Regions from separate parts of the Homo sapiens genome. Here regions 2, 3 and 4 are each linked to region 1. The links are contacts of gene promoters, found by promoter capture Hi-C in blood cells and fetal thymus (Javierre and others, 2016). All regions are on one chromosome and are shown on one strand. Each heading gives the region's core, a stretch centred on a gene start or on the middle of the fragment in contact. The rest is flanking DNA. Distances are from core to core; before and after follow the strand shown.

The links. Contacts are between HindIII fragments. The CHiCAGO score rates a contact against its expected background, and 5 or more counts as called.
Region 2: a contact is called between the fragment with the promoter of KRIT1 here and a fragment that was not itself captured in region 1, in 1 of 17 cell types (total CD8 T cells). The highest score is 5.2, in total CD8 T cells.
Region 3: the fragment with the promoter of RBM48 here is called in contact with a fragment that was not itself captured in region 1 in 1 of 17 cell types (naive B cells); the score reaches 7.8 in naive B cells.
Region 4: a contact is called between the fragment with the promoter of BET1 here and a fragment that was not itself captured in region 1, in 5 of 17 cell types (naive CD4 T cells, total CD8 T cells, total CD4 T cells and 2 more). The highest score is 12.0, in naive CD4 T cells.

What each region holds. Positions count from the first base shown.
Region 1 is chr7:97,114,705-97,120,597 of GRCh38, forward strand. It overlaps SDHAF3 (succinate dehydrogenase complex assembly factor 3), which reads left to right and starts at 2,994. Exons shown (of 2, transcript NM_020186.3): 1 at 2,994-3,193. The coding sequence starts at 3,020. RefSeq lists enhancers at 2,652-2,731, 3,082-3,171. The HindIII fragment of the contact is 1,525 bases long and covers 2,635-4,159 here.
Region 2 is chr7:92,242,832-92,248,724 of GRCh38, forward strand. It overlaps KRIT1 (KRIT1 ankyrin repeat containing), which reads right to left and starts at 3,083. Exons shown (of 19, transcript NM_194454.3): 1 at 2,959-3,083; 2 at 2,071-2,340; 3 at 1,171-1,318. ANKIB1 (ankyrin repeat and IBR domain containing 1) reads left to right here and starts at 3,143. Exons shown (of 20, transcript NM_019004.2): 1 at 3,143-3,688. RefSeq lists an enhancer at 2,964-3,258 and a silencer at 3,189-3,578. The HindIII fragment of the contact is 4,029 bases long and covers 522-4,550 here.
Region 3 is chr7:92,525,982-92,531,874 of GRCh38, forward strand. It overlaps RBM48 (RNA binding motif protein 48), which reads left to right and starts at 2,814. Exons shown (of 5, transcript NM_032120.4): 1 at 2,814-2,943; 2 at 3,495-3,685. The coding sequence starts at 2,833. PEX1 (peroxisomal biogenesis factor 1) reads right to left here and starts at 2,539. Exons shown (of 24, transcript NM_000466.3): 1 at 2,326-2,539. The coding sequence starts at 2,454. RefSeq lists enhancers at 1,958-2,137, 2,738-3,117 and a silencer at 2,368-2,597. The HindIII fragment of the contact is 3,452 bases long and covers 2,626-5,893 here.
Region 4 is chr7:94,001,504-94,007,396 of GRCh38, forward strand. BET1 (Bet1 golgi vesicular membrane trafficking protein) reads right to left here and starts at 2,852. Exons shown (of 4, transcript NM_005868.6): 1 at 2,695-2,852. The coding sequence starts at 2,713. RefSeq lists enhancers at 2,062-2,668, 2,669-3,274, 2,729-2,778, 2,789-3,418. The HindIII fragment of the contact is 1,547 bases long and covers 1,983-3,529 here.

The DNA of each region.
Region 1 (5,893 bases), core at 2,147-4,646:
AAGTTGGAAAGTACTGCAAATTACCTAACCCAGCTCATTTACAAGTGAGAAAATCTGGGCACAGAGCGGTTAAATCACTTGCAGAGTAACATATAAGAAAAAGAAACACATGAAGGAAGGATAAAGGAAAGGTCTGCATGAAGTGTAGTGATCTAGATTGGTGGCCAGAAATATAAGTGTGATTTTATTTTCAGTTCATGGCTATTTTTACCACAAGAGGAACACTGATCAGCCTAAATTGGTCAGGGAAACAGAGAAAAGTTTTGTCCTCAAAACATAGCTCACTGTCCAGCTTGTTGTAAAAAAAATAAAATAAAGGTTAACTGTCATTATTCTCACTGTTATTGCTTTATTCCACTTCTCAAGGCCTAACCACACCACTATGTCTTGGCTTCTCTTTCACCCATCGTCTGCCATTTTGAGCATTGATTCTCCAATGCTTTGTGGACCCTTTCTACTCTCTTTAGGCTCAATTAATTCCTTTATTTTTTAATTAATTCATTGGCAGAATGTTTTCTCACATTTTTATAAGAGTGTTGGCTCTTGAAAGAGGTATTTATTACACATGTTCTTTAACTCCAAAGGAAACCAGAAAAAAACAAACGGGGACAAGAAATCAATTTTCAATTTTACAGGGATATTAACAGATGAAGTATGGTTAGAAAAAAATTTCCTGAAGCAAAATAACCACGCTGCCATTCAATCCTTGCCATTAATGCAGTTTGTCATAATACCAAATTAAATCCATTTTTAAAAAGTTCTGTGTTTTTTAAAACACATATTTTCCCTAAATTTAAGCAAAAGGAGAAGCTCTATTCAAAGCAATAAATTCTACTTACTATTTGTATGGCACTGTGGTGGGCCCTGAAAAGGATACTAAAATGAGTAAGTACCTGCCTTCAGTAGCTGAGTGTGTCTTGTTTTTCTTTCAGAAAGTTTTTGCACAGAAAGAAGTCTGGGGTCTGTGAGACAATCACACAAATTTCAACATTTCTGCCTCTTCTTCACCAGCAGGAATATGAGGCATCTGACACCGTTAGTGAGTTTCACACATTAATTCAACAGATATTTATTGAGTGCTTACTACAGACCTAGTGCAGGTCACTAACAAATCACAAAATCCCTGCCCCTATAGAATTTGTACTCTAGTTGGGGGATAATAAATGGAGAATAAGCACATGAGTAAATTATGTAAGTAATATAGAGAGAAACAAAGCAGAGGAGGAGCATAAGAAATTCTTGGTTTGGTGAGGTTGCAACTTCAAGCAGGGTTTCAAATAGGGTTGCCAGGGAGGGTCTCATTAGAAGGGGACCTGAAGTATGCGCTGAGTGAAATAAAAGTGTTAGCCAGGAAGATACATTTGGCAAAGCACTCCAAGTAGACGGGACAGCAAGTGCCAAGGCCTCAGTTGGGAGTGTACCTGGCTTTTTAAAATATGAACTAAGAGCTAGGAGGCCAGTGTGGCTGCAACTGGCTAACTAGGGAGAAAGCAATAGGAGAAAATTTAAACCTTTAAGGGCTAGAGACTGGGCTTTACTCTGATGAAAATCCCTGGAGGCTTTTGTTGAGCAGAGGAGTGAAATGATCCGATTTACAGTTTAGATTGTTAAAAGAAAAACTTTAAACAAGTTAAATCTAATAAAGTTTATTTGCACGAGCGCACGTGCACACACACACACGATTTATGAGGCATTCATCAGGCAGCAGCACTTAACAGGGAGAGGTTCAGAGAGCTCTACCCAGCACTGTGGGCAGGCAGTATTTATAGACAGAAAAAGGAAGTGCCCCACAGAAACAGCTTGATTGCTTACAGTTGGGCTAGTCTTATTTGGGCAGGACATTATGACGTATTTGCCTTATATGCACATAGTCTGATCAGTTGGCAGCCTGTGATTGGCTGAAGCTCAGCTACTTGTCACAAGAATATACTCTCAGTTGCAGTTAATTTACATACTAAGTTAGGTTGCAGTTCCCTACATAGCAACTCAGAGTAGGGAGGAAATTTTAGGCCAAATTTAATTTAAATTATGTTGGAGCATGACCAAAGTTGGTCATGACCAGAAGCTGAACACAGATATGGAAGCTAACACAATATCCAGTGGAGAGAGATTGTGGTAGAGTACATGGGGCGAAATGGTTGATTTCTGCATTTTTGTTGGTGACGCCATCAGGATTTGCTGAAGAACCAAACGTGTGACAGGAAAGGACAACACAAGGAGCTGCCAGCTTTGGAAACCAGTTCTACTCTCAGTATTACCTTCGCAAAAGATAGAGCTTTGTAAATTTCTAGATTCCTCGTTCTTATTATCCTAGACTATTTAACCAGAATCTCCAGGGTCGTGGTCCTGGAAACAATACGTTTAAAACTCTTCCCAAGGATCCTTCAGCAGCCAACTTGACTTTGGCTAAGGAGTCCGCCAGCTCTGGGCTCACTTGGGTTGTTTGCAAGGAAGAGCCCATGCCCAGAGTATAAATTGGGAGAACAGCGCTGTGCAAAGAGCGTGGGTTGGTGAGCTAGTGGATGGCGAGATTAATCTCACTCTGATCCCTAAAGCAGGGTGCAGTAATACTCTAAATGCCTCAAATGGGTTGGGAACCATGGAAGGAATCCCGGAGGAGCCCGATCTTAACGAAGCTTTTCTCAGGCCTTTGGTAGGAGGACAGAAACGAAGTTGAATGAAAAAGACAGTGGAGTGGGACTGAGAAATGACAACGGCCCACCACAGACCTCTCTCTTTCAAGGCCTGTGTCGTCAGGACGCAGGCCAGAAGAAGCCACGACGAGGCGCAGGCGCGACTCCACGAGGGCCACGCCCCTCCTAGAGAAGGACCGACCCGTTTTCCGCCCGCAGCGGAGCTTGGGTTTCCGGGAGGACCTGATTGTGCAAGGGACCAAACCGGATAGAGGTCGCGCGCCCTCTTTCGTCTGCCTTCCGGTTCACTAATACGCAAGTTCGCAGAAGTGCGGGAACGCGCCGTCCCTCTGCGCAGGCGCAGTCGGCGGTCGGCGTGGGGCGCTATGCCGGGGCGGCACGTTTCTCGAGTCCGGGCATTGTACAAGCGCGTCTTGCAGCTGCACCGTGTTCTGCCCCCGGACCTCAAATCCCTGGGCGACCAGTACGTGAAAGACGAATTTAGGAGACATAAGACCGTTGGTTCTGACGAGGCACAGCGTTTCTTGCAAGAATGGGAGGCAAGTGACGCTCCCTTCTCTTTGCCCAAGACCTTTGGGGTTCCTCGGTGTCCAGGTTTCTAGTTCCAGTCCCCCATGCGGGGTTAAACAGAGCAGCAACCTGTTCTGTTTGAAATAGCGTAATGCTGTTCAGGTAACACTTTCCAAAGTTTCTCCCACGGGTTTCTCACTAGAGCAGATCCTGTTACTTCAGCGTCCCCAATTCAGTTCAACTTTTGAGCTCCTGCAGATGCCAGGTGCTCAAAGGGTGAGGGTAGGAGGTCACAAAAATGAGCAAGTCGTCGTTAAGTGCTCAAAAACCTCAGGAGCTTTTTGTCCTTTTAAGTGCCTTTGCACCTAGTAAGCGCCCATTAATAAATTAATGGTTCTCTTATTAGTTTTCAAATTTAAAGGCTTATTTCCGTAATTTATTATTTAATCTCAGCGCTTTTGGTTGGGTTTAAATAATTTTCTCACTTGGCTGATACAGAAATCAGGTAACATGAAAAAGATTACAAAAGGTTGGAGATTACAAACTGTGAAGGAGAAAAATGCTGGTGGCAGTTAAGTCAGGCGAAAGTTGTTTCCTCCGGTCTCAAGTCATTGTTACTTCGCCCTGCACCATTGCGCTAAATATTAAACAGACACATGCATTAGCAATAAGTCGTTTGACTTTTTTTTTTTTTTTTTGAGTAAAGGAAAAAAGATATTCAGAGTATTTCGTGGGGCTCGGGGCCCTGCAGGATTGCCCCTAGTTTTCATTTGCAAATATAAATAAATGAATGGAATTAGAGATTGGAATGACAGCTCAGATATTTGAAAGCATGAGTTGGAGCTGATATGAAAATAGAGGTAAGCGGTTCTTCGGCCTAAATAGTTGAAGGGGAGATGACTGAAGTCGGCTTTGTAAAAAAAAATCAAAAGAATGGTTAGGGTGAACACAAACTTTGCACTGACTTCCAGAATTCTTTTTTGTATAATTATTGAAGCTTTTAAGAGCGACATTTAGAACAATCGGGAAATTTAGAACTTTCTTGAAAATCATGGTGTATTTGATGTAATTCGCTTGCCTGAAGCAGGGAAGTTGAAGCTTTTCAGACACAGAGCACTTTATTTTAATAAGGTAATTTGGTTTTGGAGCCTGAAGAACTGGATTCAGATTCAGTCTCTGACATTTTAAGTGTCAGATCACATAATTTTTCTAGTCTTATTTTCTCATCTATAAAATAATAAGTGTTTATGCATCTCAAAATTTACGTATGTAAATGTATTTACAAGCACTTGTGTATTGCTAATTGTTATGAAGCTATAAGATACTGTATTAAAGTATTTTACATCTTTTATGGTAGGTCATTTTGTGGCCGTACAGGAAGGAGAGTAGCTCTCTGTTGGGAGGAAATAAGGTTATTTTAAGAAGTCTTAAAATGTAAGCACATGGAAGCCTCTTTGGGAAAAAGTAGGAAAGAGTAGCAACTCAGAAAAAATTGATAATAGGTTGTAGGAGAGAGAGAGGGTATAAAAAAGAACTGCATAAATAAAAAATGTGTTAGTTGACCTAGTAGGCTTGGTAACTGGGATTGAGCTTTTTAAAACTTGGAATAATTTTAGACATACAGAAGAGTTAGAAAGACAGTAGAGAGTTCCCTACATCCTGTTTCCCCCTGTGTTAGCATCTTACATAATCAGGGTACAGTGATCAAAAACAAGAAATTAACATTGCTACAATGCTGTTAACTACAGACTTTATTTACAATTTGCCAGCCCTTTCACTAATGTCCTTATTCTGTTCCAGGATCCAATGGGGATTCTACAATGCATTTAGTTATTCTTTTTCCTTAATCTCCATTCTGTGACAGTTGCTCCGTCTTCCTATCTTTCATTACCTTGATACTTTTTTGAAAAGTACTAGTCTGTTACTTTGTGGAATGTATCTCAATTTGAGTTTGTCTGATGTTTTCTCATGGTTAAATTGATGTTATGCATTTCATAACATCTCAGTAAGAATACCACATGGGCAAAGTGTTCGCCTCAACACTTAATGTCAGAGGGCACATGATACTAACATGACTTCTTACTGGTGATGATAACTGTGATCACTTGGTTAAAGTAATAATCCACGTGGTGTCTCTACTGTAAACTTACTATTTTCTCTTTTGAAATTAATACATATTTGGGGGTAGGTACTCTCAGGCTTTCAGATGATTACTAGTCTTAGCATTCATTGATGGATTTTGCCATTGTGTTCCAATGGTGGCTCTTTTGTTTCCCTCATTCCTTCTGAATTTATTAGTTGACACGCGTCTGTAGAGAACAGTTTTCCTGTCTTCCCCGACCATTGTTGATCTACTGGAATTAATGAATTGGCAGCTGGGTAAAGATAAATTTAAACGTAGTAATCTCTTTGTATAACATAATTATCACAGTTACAAGGCAGCTTAATCTAAGCCTGGGAGTTAGACGTGGTAGGTTGGATCCTACCAGGAAAGATACTTGAAGAACTGGTCTTTTTGAAAGAGTAGGGCTAGAGAAGATGCTAATGATTGGAGGGGAGAAAAACCTGGCTAGAGAAGTTTTATCACCAGAGAGTAATATACTTAAGACTTCCAAGTCTTTTTCCCCCCCACCTGTTCTTCAAAATATCTAATTTATGATTATGTTATACTAGATACTGCTAGACATGACATGGATTTTTATGCCTTTATTTTTCAGTTAGTGCTCATT
Region 2 (5,893 bases), core at 1,833-4,332, 4.9 Mb before region 1:
TTTAGACAGAGTCTCGCTCTGTCACTTAGGCTAGAGTGCAGTGACAATCTCGCCTCAATGCAACCCTCGCCTCCCGGGTTCAGGCGATTCTCCCTCCTGCCTCAGCCTCCTGAGTAGCCAGAATTAACAGGCGTGTGCCACCATGCTCGGCTAATTTTTGTGTCTTTTAGTAGAGATGGAGTTTTACCATGTTGGCCAGGCTGGTCTCAAACTCCTGACCTCAAGTGATCCACCTGCCTCGGCCTCCCAAAGTGCTCGGATTACAGGCGTGAGCCACCACACCTGTCAATAATCCAAATTTTTTATTCCAAATATATTCACTGTGTGTGTGTGTGCGTGTGTGTTATGCATATACTTTGTCCCACTAAATCTTAAGTCTCCATTGCGCAATTTCCAACAAGTGACTGAATTTCAACCACAATCTTAGTTGTATAATAGTTTTCTTCATTGAATAAATTTCTTTCATGGCTACACTAAAGTGCATCTTTCTGTACTGATTATTTTTTATCTTTTTTTGAAAAAGCTTCTCCCCATTTATTTGTCAGTAAATTTCTAAAAGAACATTAAAGAGTTTCTTTCCCAGCTATGTTGAGATGAACTTTCTTCAGTTTTTTAAAAACCATTAGGCATTAAAATTACCTGTTCATATTTAATGAGTTCCCTACTGCTGCAACTCTCAAGATAGACCATTTTCAAGAAAGGGTTTTGAATGTTATTTGAGAGGCGATAGAGTAATTTATCCTGTTTCTTCCACTGCAACTGAAAATGTCACTCTGTAACTTTTAATTCACTTCCCTAAATAATAATTAAAAAGTGCCTTATGATTGTAAAATTACCCTAAGAAGAAATTCTTTTAAAATACAGTAGCTTTTGGCATTTTACATAAACTTTAGCCTAAGATTAAAACAACCATTAAAATTATTGTACAAAAATTTTAAATAAAATAATTTAAATACTTTTCAAATTTATTTTAAATTCTAAAACTTTCCATTGATTTAGATCCAAAAAAACCCTACAGATATTTCACTAGAAAAAAATACAGTGACACATTAGGATAGAGACATTTCATTGTGTGAAAGGTTTTGAGGACGTTATCATTCTTTATCATTATATACTTCATGAAATTTTTTTCAGTTCAATTTTTTGTATAAAATCATTCTTAAAACCCACCTCATGCAACAGACCTTCCTACATCATGTGAAAAGGATGAGGCCTTTTTCTTCTCAGAATTTCTATTTAGCAATTACTTTTCACCACAGATTAACAATGACTTCAAGATAATAAACGTTTACAAATTATGAGACAGACGCATTGAAGACTGCAAGCCCCAAAAAGAAAGACATTGTATTGTGAATACACTGTATGATATATGGGCACAATTACAGAAACCATTTTATCTATTAAGGACCTAAAAGAAAAATCAAGTAACTCTTACTTTTCTAAAGACAATTTAAAGCAAATCAATTCCTGTCTTGGTCAACTCATGTTAAGAAAACATTTACTAGCAAAGTACTTTGTCAATACTCATCACTTCTCTAGAATATTTAATTAATACTGCACAGAAGCCTGAACTTTTAAAAGGTAAACAAATGTGATTTTAAAAAGACATAACTATGACAGTAACAGTATTTTGTTTTCTTAAACCAAATACTTTTTTACCATATCCCCAAAATATTCTTAAAATTCATTTTCAAGAACTATTCGTACTTGACTACTTAAAATCTACATTCTTCCAGTGACATGAAAGAAGGAAACAAAGGCTTAACAGGAAAATAACAAAAGTAACTAACATAGGAAGGTAAAACTGCTAAGGGAGAAACACAGACAAACTGATAGAAAATGAGTAGCTTGAACTAAAATACAAGAAAGGTATAACTAGAGTTTGCAATATGTTTAGACTGAGTCTGAGATGAGGGTTCAAGTGAATAAGTACAGGAAACGTGGCATTTTGTTATATGGCTCACTCCATTCTGGAAAATGTTAGGCACAAATGATAATATGCTCCCTAAGTAATAAGATCTTATAAATAAAGCAGTGGAAGTGGTCCTTAATTAGGGGGGTGGCACCTACCTGGGATCACTGGAAAATATGGAGGGCATTTCTGGTTGTCACTATGACTGATGAGGGGAGATGTACAACTGCCATTTAGTGTCCATGGAACAGGTTTGCTAACATCCTCTTAGTATGCTAGACAGCGTTTGCAAACAGAAACTGTAAAGGCACATATGCACTCCAGAAGGGTAAGAAAATAATGAGGCTGAGATCCTGAGTTGGACCACCGAGATGAAAGACTTCTGGTGAGGCTAAAAACATGTAGAAAAAGCGATGAAAGCCAAAAACCTTAAAAGGTGGAGAAAAGTGTAGAGGCGAGAAGTGAGTTACAGGGGGAGAAGTGAGTTAGAATGACAAGCTGTGAATCCCTTTCCCTGCAATGACAAAAATACGTAATCACTCTGCCTGGGAGGTTTTTTCCTGCGCCACCACCCGTCAACGTCCACTACTGGGGAAAAACGTAAGCCTCTTTGCTCAAAGAGTTTCCACCCAAAAAGTGGCTATGGTTTCTCTGTAACTACATGTGAAAAATAAACTCCTTGCCTGGGGCAACTAGATGTGGAGATGGTTCAGTCTCCCACCTCCGTTTTCCCTCGCTGGAGTCGAACTTGCTCCTCCTGTTTCCCGAAGGACACCGAGAGGTCCCACCCGTACGGGCTGCCGCGAGTGCCTCTCTGGCCGCTACATTCAACTAAATGGGTGGGACAGTCACCTGGCGAGGGGGGGCAGGGACCGTCACCGCTTTCTCATTCCTCCTTCCCTCCTCCCAGGCACAGCAGCCCGGCCCAGCTTCCTGTGGCAGAAAAACCCTCAGTCGCCAAAAGAAAGCCGTCTTGAGGGTTCCCCCGCGCTCCCACCCGCGCCCCAAAAGCTCAGGTCTCTGGAGTCGGAGACCCTCCTGCCCACCTGCTCTTTACTGTCCTTCCCTCTCCTCGCACCTCAGCACCATTCACCCCTCACCCTCTCCCGAAACTACGGGGTCCCAGGTCTTCAAAGGCCTTAGCTTTCCACCCCGCCGTTACCGTGGCTATGAAATCGCTTCCGGGTTCACACCCTTTGCAGCCTCGCGGTTGGCGGTGAAAGAGCTTCCGGGTCGGCGGCCGGGCTGCTGCCGTTCCTGCTCCTTTTCACTGGACCTGCAGTCTCTCAGGGGCTGGTGGCAGGCGACTAGGAGACTAGGGTGGTGGCGGTGGGGGTGCCAGCGGCTGAGCCGGAGCCGGAGCCGGAGGCGGGGGAGGGGAAGAGGGCGGCCGGGGCTGCGAGCGCGCAAGGCTGGAACATGAGCCGGGCTTGACCGCGAGGCGGAGGCAAGAGCCACCGCCCCCTCTTCCCCTCCCCCGAGTGAGGCGGCGCAGCGGCCGGAGAGGGATGGGGGGCGCCCACCCAGTCTGAGCCTCGCCGCGGGCGCCTTCGGCTCACGCAGCGCTTCCCGCGGGCCGCCAGTGCGCACCCTCGGCCACATCAGCCTCCGCCTGGCGGGTGCACCCGGGCCGGCGAGGAAGGGGCAACCGTCCGGGTGGGTGGGGCGGGCTGGGTACCTGAGGTCACCAGCTCGGCTGTAGAGGCAGGGGCGGCGGAGGCGGAACTGCGGAGTTGCTGGGTCCACCGACCCTTACCCTCAGCGAGAGAAGTAACCGTAAGTCTCAGCTTCGCGGTACAGATGTGTTTGAGGCTGCCTCTACCCATTTGTGGCTCCGAGTTCAGAGCTACCTACTTCACACCCTCCCGGATCTACTAGGAGTGTGTCTGTCGCCTGTTTTGGAGCATTGTTGTTCTGTCTGTCCCCATCCCTGAACAGGCAGCATTCTCTGCCCTACAGGGCTTTTCTCCCAGCGAATTTGCAAGCCTCCGGGTCTCCGTGACGCGTCCCATCCTCCCCATCTGGATGCATCTCCTTGTCCCTCTGTCCTCAAAGGATCTGTGTCCTTCCTCGCAGCCTCCCCCCCACCCCCATCCTTTGAGACGTGGAAAGCCACGGGTTCTGCCGACCTCGGGGGCTAGAGAGAGTCTTGAGAAGCGGATGGGTAAAAGTGCTCTGCAGGGCTGTGATGGGTGGGGATAGGTGCAGATGGCTCCAGTGAACCTTTATTTTTGCAGCTTCTGCCACCAAAACAAAAGAATGGAGCGCTCCCCTGTATTCTTATTCTTCTCCGTATGTATGAGCTGTTTTTCTGTACGTAGCTGTTTGAGTCGCAGGAAATTGAAACTAGAGCTGTAATAAAGCATCTCCTGAGGAGATTTTGAGAATTAGTCTCCCAAGCTCTATTCACACGGAATGGCATATCGAACAATCTTGTATTGGAATGACCATTTCAGAAGAGCTTTACTGGTAGATCTGACAGATAAATGTAAAGATAAGAGTCTGCTGTTTCAAATAGTGTATTTTAGATACCTTTAAATTTTAGTGTTCTAATTTTCATCTAGTTCTTAATTTGTGAAGTATGTGGGTATGTGTAAGGTGTAAAAATCTGTGTATTGGAAGGTTTTGCTTTGTTACAAGCTTTTGCTTTGTTGCTTTTGAGACAGACGTTTAAAGATCATATTAGATTGTATTTGATAATTATTTTCAATCATTAATTCCAGAGAAATCTTTTTTTGTATCAGCCACTCACAGATGTTACACACCTTGGTGCCTATGACCCTCCTGCTGCTTAAACTGTGAATGTCTTCAAAGTATATTTTCAGATTTTTGAACTAGGCGTTTTTTCTCATTAGAATTTGATTTGCTTTTCAAACTGCTCCTGCAGAACTTTCCAGAAATTAGATTTAAAAATAATTTTAATGCTGTCAGTGATTGGACAATAGCTCTTATATGACTTTATGCATTTGCTACTTTTCAGAGCACCATAGGAAGCAAACGATAATTTAAGAATAATTTTACTGTGTACTGCAGGTTGTCATTCTGCAAACTACTGTGTAGTGTAGACTGGTAGCTTTGGTGTTTTGTGTTGCTGAAAAACATTGTCATTTCATTAAGAAAGATGGATGTGTTTAATGACTTTTCCCCCCAACCTCCTTTCAGCAGTTGATTTTGGGCTATTATCTGATTTGTAACTTCTCACTGTTCACAGATTTTAATTTGAAGTAGGCTCAGGAGATGTAGCTCCAACTCTGTCTCTGGAAATGTACTTAGCACAGAAGCCAAGCACTGTGCAGAGTTGAGTGTATTATTAAGGGTGTGGCTTTTGCTTTCTGTAAAATTGTTCAGTTTCTGAATAAGAGTAGGGTGCTATAGTGAGGTGATGGGCGCTATCTTGGAGAAGTCTTAGAAAAAATGTTGTTGATTCTCTTTTCCTTGGGGTAGGATGGGGAAGATAGAACTATATTTTCCTATTTCACTGTTCCCTTGACCACTACACCGAGAATTTTGAGTTTTCAATATGTAAGGAGTCTGAAACTGTGCCAACTGTGCTGTAAACAAGGGCTCTAACAGGTAGGTGACTCCTGAAACATGGGAGGGAAGTTTTGTTAGCCACTCTTTTGTACTCCTGTGGCACTGCCCACTTCTCAAAGAGTGGGTTTTCTTTCCTCTTTCTTTTCTGGGGTATGCACTCAAACTTGTGAAAGTGAAATATGTGTATTTACAACTTGCTTGTAGATAAAAGTGCGAGCTCATTTTCATATATAAGTAGATGGAAGAACTATGAATTAAGTTAATCTGAATGTCCTTGAAATGAAGTTGGAAAAGATTCCTCAGTGCTTTGGGTAATTTTTCCCCCATTGAGGATGCATATGACATTTATTTAGATTAAGTTTTAAAATATTTCCTTCAAATATTTGACACATTTGCCAAAAAGGATTTGGGAGTGGACTAAGTCATTATTAAAGAGACCAGTCTGTG
Region 3 (5,893 bases), core at 1,564-4,063, 4.6 Mb before region 1:
AACAGAAGTGGGAAGGAGATTGGTTATAGAAGAAACAGTGAGAACGGTAGGTTGGGTGATGCAGAGTGAGCTATAGACAAGAGGGCAAATTAGCTGCATGGCAATGGTACTGGCCTAGGAATGCCAGTTTCCTTACATGTAAAAGTACAGAAACGACCTAGATGCTTAAGGTCTCTATCGTCATTAAAATTCTATGATTCTAGGACAGTAGGTCTCAACTCTTTTGTGCATCCAAGTAGCCTGAATAAATTTTTTAAAATTAGAGATGCCTAAAGCCTATTCCCTAAGATTTTAGGTCTGATTTAATAGGTCTGAGGGTTGATCAGAACATCTGTATTCTTAAAAGCTTCAAGGTAAGTCTGACATAGGCCAGAAAACCATTGTTCCAACCCTTCTTCCCATTACTGCATGATCTGTATTATGCACTCAATGCTTCACCCCAAATAAAGTAATTCAAGTATTAACTCCCAACTTGTGAATCTTTCTGCTTTCATAATTATCTATGGCCTCTAACCCAAGAATTCTGGGAATCTATCCTAGACAACCAGAAATAAAATGATGTTTTCTAAACAAAGATGTGTTATTTTCAACGTCTGATTAAAATATAGTTTATCACTTCTAATGCCTAAAAATTAAGTACAATCTAAATGGTCAATCATAGTAAACAATTAAATAAATTATGGCAAATTTGTGCTAGAATACTAATTAACAACTTAAAATGATGACCTTTTAACAAAATAAAACACTCATAATAACATTAAATAAAAACACCAGGACACAAAACTGTACGTGTGTATACAGGACCTCATTTATGTTAAAAATAAAGATTAGAAACAAAACTGGAAGATTTGATCCAAACTGTCAACATTAGTCACCTCTAAGTTCTGGGATTATGGGTAACTTATTTTCTTGTTAATAATTTTCCATGCTTTCCAAATTTTCTATAAAACATAAATTCTATAAATTTATATAATTCATCGAGGAATAAATGTATAGATTTATGGAATCTATAAAGTAATAAACTTATTACATTGATAATTAGAAAGTAAAGTTGACCTATTCTGCTAATATGGGCTGAACAGAAACAGCAATTTGTTCCAGGGCTAAAGACATTTACATTTCAAAAAGATATGCATGAATTAATTCTTATAAGTACTTCCCGAAGGCTCAAAATTTAAAACAAAGATCAAGACCACTAAATTCTTAAACAGTGATGAATGTAAGGTAACAACTACATCTTAGGATCAAATTAGAGTTACTGTAAGAAAGCATTCCTACTATTAAGTGCAGATTTGAAAACATGTTGAAAAATCCCATCGAAGCTGACAGAGCACTGAACCAACTTCTACCTGGAACTTGGTGACAGTGACTGATTTGTCTCTAGCCATAAAGCCCATCAAAAACCAAAAGATTGTCTACTTAGTGGTAAAAAATAATAACGACGATGATAGGAGGATTCTGCTGAACTCATGTTTTCAGTGGACCAAAAATATCTTCCCCTAGGTATGGGGAAGTAACTCAAGTGGAAAGAAGGGATGCTTGAAATTATTGCAAACTCTATTCATTGCATAGATTAGCCACTGGTGGGTACCATGCATCCAGGATTTATGAGGATTTCAAATACGCCGTCCTTTTGCCCCCATAAGTACACTCAAACTCGTGAGACCATGTGCCTCTATTTTTAATTATGAAAATATGGACGCTGTATCTCCACCAGTGGTTAGAACTGTGAAACATCCTAACCACAACGTCCAGAAGGGCGACTGATCGCAGAGCTTCAAGTGATCTTAACTACGTTATGTGTTCCTAACACACTACAGCTGTGTTCCGCGTCAGCGACGCAGGGCAGAACCATCATTGTATTAACCTTTCCCGCTCATGGGACGCGGTGCTTAGTCCCCGGGAACCGACAGGGGCTCCGCCAACAACTCTGCGTCCCGCTCTCGCGGCCCGGACGGCAGCAGCGCAGGTTAACTGGAAATGGCTGGCAAGGAAAACACCTTTTAAAATAATAAAAACAAACCACTTCTCAGGAGCTTTTCCAGCCTGGAATAAGGAATATTTATAAAAACAGTGGTAGAATATTAGGACGTTTCTAGGTTCAGTTTCACCAAGTGAAAAGACCTGGGATAAGACGAGCCCAGGGCTGCACTGGACTTGTGGGATCCAGAGACTACCCAGAAGGGCCCTGCCGTCGAGGGACCCTGATCTCTGCGCGCTTCGGCGGCGCCCGGGTGGCAGCCGGTGTCCCGCCGCGTCCCTGAGAGGCTTCGGCCTCGTCCGACCCCAGGCTGAAGATCAGGTGGCTCGGGGCCGGCAGGTTACCTGCAGCAGATGCAGCTGGGCCACGAGACGCCGCGGCAGGTGGAGGAAGCAGTCGCGAGCGTTGGTGAAGGCCACAGTCACTGCCGCCCCGCCTCCCCCAGCACCCGCCAGGCGATCGCTGCCCCACATCGTCCCGGAGCGTCGCTCTGGGTTCGCCCACCCTAGCGCCGCAAAGGACCCGGGACCCGGCAGGCCGAGGACGTCGGAGCCGGAGGAGATCGATCGGCCCCGCCCCCTGCGGCCCCGCCCCCTCTCCCCGCTGCGCATCCTGCCGTAAGCCTGTAGTGGGTGGGACAAGAAAGCTTCTGTCACCCACCGCGCCTCTCCGCCGAGCCGCTCGGGGGCGGCACCTCGTTCATCAAATCTTCGCACGCAGGAAACGATGGCCGACGCTGTCGATTCTCCAGCCAATCCTGGCACTCCTTAACTCATCCCGCTCTCTTATTGGATAAAAGGGAGCTCAGTAGGGCGGATGTTGTCCTCCCTGCGAGGATCAAAGTAGGCAAGATGGCGTCGAGCGGCGGGGAGCTAGGGAGTTTATTTGATCACCACGTCCAGAGGGCGGTATGCGACACACGGGCCAAATATCGAGAGGGACGACGGCCTCGTGCTGTGAAGGTAAAGTGATTTTGGTTTCATTCGCTCTCCTCGGTAGCTTTATGTGAGTGCTAGCGCCATATGACCAGCCTACGGAAATAAAGGCACGACAAGGCTTCCGTCAGATCTGTCTCTCGTTAGAGCTGGCGTGAAGAACCCTCGGTCAGTTACCAAAGATTCTCACGACGCCTTTGGTCAAGTATTAGAACATCAACTCCACGAGAATAGGCCTTGGTTTTAGTCATTGGATCTTCTGTGTTTACAGTACTACTTGGCACAGGTAAGCACTCAGTGAATATTCGTTGAGTGATTGTTCCCAGTGACTTCTACCGACTCAATTTCTGGAAAAAAATGTCGACTGAAGGTAGTCTGTTATATGCCTTAGGTAGCCTCTCACATGGACTGTTATTCTTTATGCAGAAGGAATGGCAGAAATTTCATTTTGTGTTCTTTTGCTGACTGGGTTGAACAGATTATTTCTTGTTTTCAAAGTTCTCTTTAAAAAAAAATAGAGGCAGATTCGTCCTAGGCTTATTTGCGAAATACGTTTAATAACTCTGCATTTCTTTCAGGTATATACAATCAATTTGGAATCTCAGTACTTATTAATACAAGGAGTTCCTGCTGTGGGAGTCATGAAGGAATTAGTTGAGCGATTCGCTTTATATGGTGCAATTGAACAGTACAATGCTCTAGATGAATACCCAGCAGAAGACTTTACTGAAGTTTATCTTATTAAATTTATGAACTTACAAAGTGCAAGGTAATGTGCAAGTTAAGAAATGACTCATTTCCTCATTTCTTCCATTCATATTTCTGTCATTTTGGCCCCAAGTTTCCCTCATTCATAACTGAATTACCCCAAAACGTAATCTAGCATATCTTCCTCCAGCCTTTTTAAAAGTTAACTTTACTGAAACACTGTATCCATCACATCATTCCCATGCTTAACAATTTAATGTCCTGTAGCTTGGTAGAGTAGAAGTTGGGTTTGGCCAGGCACGGTGGCTCACGCCTGCAATCCCAGCACTCTGGGAGACCGAGGTGGGCGGATCACGAGGTCAGGAGTTTGAGACCAGCCTGGCCAACATGGTGAAACCCCCCTCTCTACTAAAAATACAAAATTAGCTGGGTCTAGTGGCGCAGGCCTGTAATCCCAGCTACTCGGGAGGCTGAGGCAGGAGAATCGCTTGAAACCGGGAGGCAGAGGTTGCAGTGAGCCGAGATTGCGCCATTGCACTCCAGACAGGGCAACAAGAGGGAAGCTCTGCCTCAAAAAAAAAAAAAAAAAAAAAATTTGGGTTTGAAGCCTGGGCGTGGTGACTCACGCCTGTAATCCCAGCACTTTGGGAGACCGAGGCAGGCAGATCACTTGAGGTCAGGGGTTCAAGACAAGCCTGGCCAACATGATGGAAACCCCTCCTCTACTAAAAATACAAAAATTAGCCGGGTGTGGTGGTGCGGACCTGTAGTCCCAGCTACTCAGGTGGCTGAGGCATGGGAATTGCTTGAACCTGGGAGGTGGAGATTGCAGTGAGCAGAGATCATGCCACTGCCCTCCAGCCTAGATGACAGAGCAAGGCTCTGTCTCAAAAAAAAAAAAAAATTCTGGTTTGACGCCAGGCACGTGGCTCACACCTGTAATCCCAGCACTTTGGGAGGTCGAGGTAGGTGGATCACCTGAGGTCAGGAGTTCAAGACCAGTCTGGCCAACATGGTGAAACCCTCACTCTACTAAATACAAAAATTAGCCGGCTGTGTTGGTGCAAACCTTTAATCCCAGCTCCTGGGGAGGCTGAGGCACAAGTATCACTTGAACCCAGAAAGTGGAGGTTGCAGTGAGCCAAGATCATGCCATTGCACTCCAGCCTGGGCAAGAGTGAGACTGTCTCAAAAAAAAAAAAAGAAAAAGTTGGATTTGATCCCAGCACTTTGGAAGGCCAAGGTAGGCAGATTGCTTGAGCCCAGGAGTTCGAGACCAGACTGGCCAACATGGCCAGTATTTTGTATTTTGTAAAAATACAAAAATCAAGCTGGGTGTGTTGGTGCATTCCTGTAGTTCCAGCTACTTGGGAGGCCGAGGTAGGAGAATCAGTTGAGCCCAGGAGGTGGAGGTTGCAGTGAGTCTTATGGGCCACTACACTCCATCCTGGGTGATGGAGTGAGACTCTGTCTCAAAAGAAAAAAAAAGTTGGGTTTGGAGTAAGTTTTCCATTTCCACTGCTTACTAGCTTCATGATCTTGGGCAAGTTATTTAACCTGTTTAAGTTTTTCCTCTTCCATAAAATCTGTATGGTAAAGGGACCTATCTACTTCTTGGGGTTGTATGAGGATGAAATGAGATAATCCATATAAAGGTGTATCCTGGTCAGAATACAGTAAACATTAGCTATTGTGGTTTCTACTGTTACTCCTTTCTGCAAACTGACTCAGTTTTTTCCAGCCTTCTATGTGACATAATCCTCTGCTCCAAAAAGGCTGAAGTATGCAGTGCCTTATCTATTTTTATATTGATCTCTGTTCTCCTCACTAATCTGCTCTGAGACCCATCCTTCTCTGGCTATTACAATTCATATTTTCTTTCTTGTGCTATCAGTAGAACTCATAGTCTACCACAAAAGCACTTGATTTTACTGGGTCTTGTGTGGTTTTCTCAGGCTGCTGTTATATGTAATTTCACTTTCTTAACCAACCTGCCAGCTCCCATGGTTAGGGAAACATTTTCTAGAGCTTTTCTGTTTTCTATAGTACGTAGTCTGGTAGGCTCTGAAGTAAGACATCTGGATTTGAATCCTTGCTCCTCAAACCAGACTATGAGCATGGCTAAGTTACATAATGTCCCAGTGCTTCAGTTTCATTACAGTGTTGTTTTTAGGTGTTAATTCAAGTGAAGCGCTTATGACATTGCCTGGCATATGGTGAAATCTCAACAAGTATTTATCATTATCCCTGGATATAGAAGTAGTTAAAT
Region 4 (5,893 bases), core at 1,602-4,101, 3.1 Mb before region 1:
ATTTTCCAAACAGAAGAGAGTTGTACTATCTGAATTTTGCTGCTGACACACTATCCATGACACACTATCCATGAAGCTCTCCACATGTTTTATTATAAAAGAACTCAAGGAGTGGGCATATTTTTCCGCTCAGTCAAATATTAAAATCACCATTTAAAAATGCATTCTTACTCTGTTAACCAATGATACTCTGTGCAAACTGTAGTTTAATAAGGGCCAAGATACTTAAAGAAAGAATGTCTTCTTATTTTGTGTGGCTGAGGTTCTGAGTATATAACATTTACCCAATAAGTAATTACTGACTGGTTGAATTCAAACATTTGACAACTTCACCAAGGAATTCATTATAAATTAACTGCTATTTTTTCTTTCCTTTGTTTAGTTGCTTTTGCCTATCTTAATTTTAATTTTAGAGTTCTTCCATGCTGTTCCATTTATTCAAAGTGAAATTCTTGTTGTATTTATCGTCCAGAAATATATCAATGCACATTCCTATTAAAGAGTTGATCTTCCCTCAAACTATGACCCATCCCAAATACAATGACAAAAGTAAAAACCAAATAAAATGCTAGAATTGCTATTCCAAACAAAGCCACTTCTCTTCTGGTGGTGTACTGCTATGAAAAGTTGTAAAAAAGCTAGTGAGTACTGAAGATCATCCTCAGCCTTTGTTTATTTAGATAAACGCTACTTTTTTGGATAGGTTCTATCAGTAAGCTAACAAAACCATTTAGAGATTCATGTGAAGTGTGGCAGCTTCTGCCTATGGATATGTATCAGATTCACTATGATCCCAAATTTAAAATTTCAGGTCAATATGCATTCATACTTTAAAAAAAAAGAAAAGAAAAAATGTGTAACAAAAGCCTTTGTCACTTCACACCAATGTAAATTATAGCAATAGTAGTTACCTAGGTAATTACTTCTCCTCTCAATCACAGAAGAGCTTTTTTTTAAAAAAAAAAAAAAAAGAAAGAAAAAAAAAGGAAAAAAGGAGAAGGTAGTGGGCTCTAAATTGGAGAAATTCTAATTTTACTGGCTGAGCTGAGGTCCAGGTAACAATACTTTAAAAACTTCCCAAGGGATTCTAATGTACAGTCAGGGCTGAGAACCATTACTCAAGTCACTTTCCTGCAATTTAACATGGCACACTGCAGCAGGAAAATACTCAAAAGGGCCTAGGGGCCTACTGATGAAATCCAAACTCTTTGGCCTCGCATGCAAAGATCTCCACAGTGTGATCCCGAATCCCCTACTTCACCCAAACTGGCTTAATCATAATCCCTTACTTCTTTTGAGTTCCTCCTATCTGGAACTCACTTCCCCCACTCTCCATTATTCAAGGTCTACTTCAAATTCCTATGTCTCCACCAAATACACAAAGATCTTCCCCACAAAGTACACAGTGATCTATCTCTGAAATCTCTGAGACCATCCCTTATATGTAGAACTTATCTGGTATTTGGATGTATAGCGACACTTTGTACTACAATTTATCTTTGCACATATTCCTACTCCCCACCTAGACTGGAAGCTTTGGGGATCACAAACAGGGCAACAAACAACTGTATACCTAGAGCTTACTCAAGCACACAATAAATCTTTTTTGGTATTAAGGATGATGAACAAGAAAAACATTTAGACATATAAAGCTAAACTTGCTCAAAATTATTTCTTTTTTTTTTCTCTTCAATTTACCTGGCCCCATTTTCTATGATCTAAGTATTCATAAAAACTTCATTAAAAAAACAAAAAACTTTCTCATACTACAATTTATTGATCAATAAACAAGTCTACGGTTATTGGCAACTTTCACTGACTTTAAATATCTGACACTTTGGGGATTTTTTTTTTCTTTTTTCAATCTTATAATGACTGAGAAAGGTAATATCTTTTTTCAAATGTTTCATTTATTTTCTGAAGTATACTGCACTCTAATTTAGCGGGGTCTTCTTTAAAAAAAAAATCGTGTCCTAAGAGAAAGCTTCAGAACCAGAAAATGCCGTTCTAGTAGCTGTGCGTTACTATAAGGGTCCATTAAAATTCCTTGTGTCTAACTTATTCTTGCTGATGAGCCAGTTTCCTAACCCCAAAGGTAAAGATCAAATGTTAAGTCGCCAAACCTTAACCACGTTCTACTGCCTTAACCGTGGCACAAGGTTCAGATTAAGAAATCGCCTTTGACCCAGAAGTTCCAGTTCCAGGACCTTTAACAATAATGACACATACATTTACCTTTGTAACTCACTGTTACCAGATTAACGACCATTACTAGCGTGCTTTGGGTGCAACCACCCACTCTTCAAATTCCGCTTCTGAAGAAACTAAGATCCAGGGCCAGTAGGGAAACAGAAACCGGAGTCGGGCTTTGGAAAACATAGCAGCGTCCATAACCACGCTCAGTCAATAACACTAAAACACTCGACCACTGAGATGCCACCTGTACACACCCACCCCTAGTCCACTACTTTCTCTAGCCTACCATCCAAACTTGAATCTGACTCAAACTTAAGGAAATTCCAAAGATCTGGGACAAATGGTGTGTTTCCACTCGACATGGACCCCAAAGATCCCCTCTAGACATCCTGTTTTTTGGACCAAATGCCAGGAACATAAGACAGGTTCGATTTCCTCCCGCGCCCCAGCGCTCCCGGTTCTAGGGCCCCGAACTTCGAACCTCAGCCCTCTTCTTACCCAGGCCTGCACGCCTCATCCTGCCAGAGGAGAGAGAGAAAAGGCGGGTGCGGGGCTTTGGGTGAGTAGGAAACAGCTAGGGGCGACCCGGACCGCGTCTTCAGTACCAGGGCCCAGCGAAACACCAACTTCTTCCCCTAAAGCGCCACGACATCAGTGGAGTCTAAACACCGCGCCGGATGATGGCGTCACCACGGCGCTCATTGGAGCCCTGGGAAGAAGGTTGAAAGGCATTCTGGGAAATGTAGTTCACCAACGCATAACGTGTTGCTGAGGGCGTGATGTGAACCCGGTTCCAGGAGCGGACGGGGCGTCCGGAAAAGGGGGCGGCTTCGACTGCGGCTCTGATTCTGGGTCTCTGATCCAACGTTCCCGCTGTTCCGCTCGCAGCCCGCGGGTCGCTGCTTTCAGTTTGTTGACCACCAAGTTTAACCCAGCAGATCTGCTCCTCCCCACCCACAAGAGGATGGTTGGGGTATCTTTCCTGATTTAGCCTCGAACTCCCTCTCACCTCCAGAGACGATTCAGGGAAAGTTAGAGAAAACTTTGTCCAGGTTTCTCAGTTTACAAACAAGTAATCCGACACCCACAGAAGTAACCGATTTGTGCCTTGTAGTATCCAGTAAAGGAAAGAAAACCAGGTTCCTTTGAGTAGGACTCCTGCTCAGATGAGAGCAGACTAGGAAAGGCTGCGGGATCTGGTCAGAGGCACTGAATAGTTAGTTCCCTGTTACTGCATCTGTTGTACTTCTAGAAAGAACCAAGACTTTTAGTTGTTATGGGGACCAAAGGACCCCTAAACGCTCTCCCACTTTTTTTTTTTTAACTTACACAAAGCTTATTGAAATACTGCTTACACAAGGCAGTGTGCCAATTAGGGGTTTAAAACTTGTTGGCGAGTTGGAGGTGTTACTGGTATCGAGGTTAATCCTAGAATTTCATTTTATCTCAGAGGATTTATCGTGAGAATACGATGAAATCGTGGTTTTTGAAGGGAAAACAAAAAAACCTGATACACAGTAGGTGATCAAAATTCACTGGGTGTCTGCGGTTTTGTTGTTGCTGCTGTATATATGGCAGTGGAATCGTCTCCACACTAGAGATTTCCGAATATGTGATCTTTGATCATTTAGCGTTTCCTCATAGTTTCCCAGGACATTATTAACATTGACTATAATACTGGCATAAGTCTCTGCGTTAAGTTGCTTTTGTAAAAAACACATGAAAACAATTTTTAATAAGAGTTATTAACCTGGGAAGGAGGCTTTATCCAATAGTGTTTTGATAGAAAAAAATCATTAAAATAAAACCGCCATTTTCTAAAAGCAATGAAATTAAATAAGCATAATATCAGGGACAATTATTACAAATAAAAGATGGAGATTCAATAAAAGAAATGATAGCTAGGTATCCCTTTATAACTTAAAATCTGTGACAGTCCTTTGGTTAAAAAAATGCATGTTCTATAATTAAAACGTTTAAAAATTGCCTTACAGAAGGCTTGCTGATGGAAATGTAGAAATCGTTATTTTTGAAAATATGGTAATATTTACTAGAACTAATCATTTAGATTACATAAAATATACTGCTTCCTTTACATGGTAGGAAGACATAAGAATGAAATGTAGTTAAAAGGAAAACATATATAATGTACTAAGAATATAACTGAAGTAAGGCAAAGCTAGTTCATATTGAAGTTGTTACCTAAAAAATCCAATTATTGTTTTTAGCTAACGTTGCTAGTATCAAATTAGGATAATGTCATCTGAAAAAAATTTGCACTCAAAGGAAGAGGCAGGAAAAATGAACTCAATGTGCAGAAAAAGAATTATTAAATGTGACCATAGTTGACATTAGCGATCAGAGGGAATCATTTTCACTTTTCTCGTTGTGCTTTTTCCTTTTTAAATTAAAATCCTTAACTTTTCTTACTGATTGAAAGCAAATAAATTTCACAGAGATGAATAGCATTTAGAACCTCTTCTCTATTCTCACAGGATAGTCTCACAGAAAACATCTAATGTTTGTAGGTCTCTAGGAGATAAAGGACTAAAAATTACTTAAAATAATATTAAGTATTCCTTCTAGTAATTACAAAAGCAAGAATAAAAGCAGGAAATGTCTGAATCGAGGTGCAAAATTGGAACTTTTCTTTCTCCTATCTGTCTGCTTCCTGCCTGCCCATTTGTCCTACCTCTTCCTGACCAAATTTCAAGTCCAATCCAAGGGAAAAGAGCATACCAAGCTCTCAAAACTGGTTCAATAAACATTAACACATTTTTCAATCATGAAGCAAATTCAGTATCTCGGGTATCATATTTGAACTGTCACAAAATGTAAACTAGAAACAAAAAGCTCTTGATTTACAAACAAGCTATGGGACAAAGTTTGTTTCTAAGTTTGTTGTTTGGTATTTAAAGCACATTTTCCCTGAAGACTGAAATGATGGTCAGGTTCCCAACTCAGCCCAGAAAACACATGGCTGTTAGAGTTACTATGCTGGCCAATCAAAGTCTGTGTAACCCATAGGACAGCAGAAATACCGCGTATTTTCAAGACCAATAGAAGGAAAATAATGTTGTAATACTTGTGATAAAATAAAGCAAAGCCATTAAAGAAGAAATAGAGTGTTTAAAAATTATTTTGGTTATTCATGTTTGAGAAAGAATGAGTTTTACTTAAAAGTTTTAAGAATGCGAAGAATATTTTCAAGGAGTTTGCAAAAAGTCACCAATTTGATCTGTCTTTTCCATAATTTGGGAATATTACTAGCACTGATGGCAAGCTTTTCAGCCATAGTTTGTAAAAATTAGGCACACAATTCCAACCTTAAAGTCCTCAGCAGAGCCAGACACATAATTTGTGGGGCTCAGGGCAAAATGAAAATGTTGTGCCTCTAGTTCAGAAAACAGGGGAAAAGTTCAGTTAAAGGTATTAAGATACAAAACTTCTCTTTCTTCTGTTTTCTTCTGTAATCTCCCTACCATCGTTCCTCCCCTCCCCACACCAACTTGTCATGGTGTTTTTATTTGCTATTTAATATTCTTCTGAGTAAAGAAAAAAATAAATTATTAGCATTAATTTTACCCTTGATCTTTATATTGTGCAATGACAGTTTTAAATGCAAACATAAGAGCACGCTACTCGTGAAATCACTAAAATTACACATTTGGTATTTTGTACTTTGATATGGTTTGGA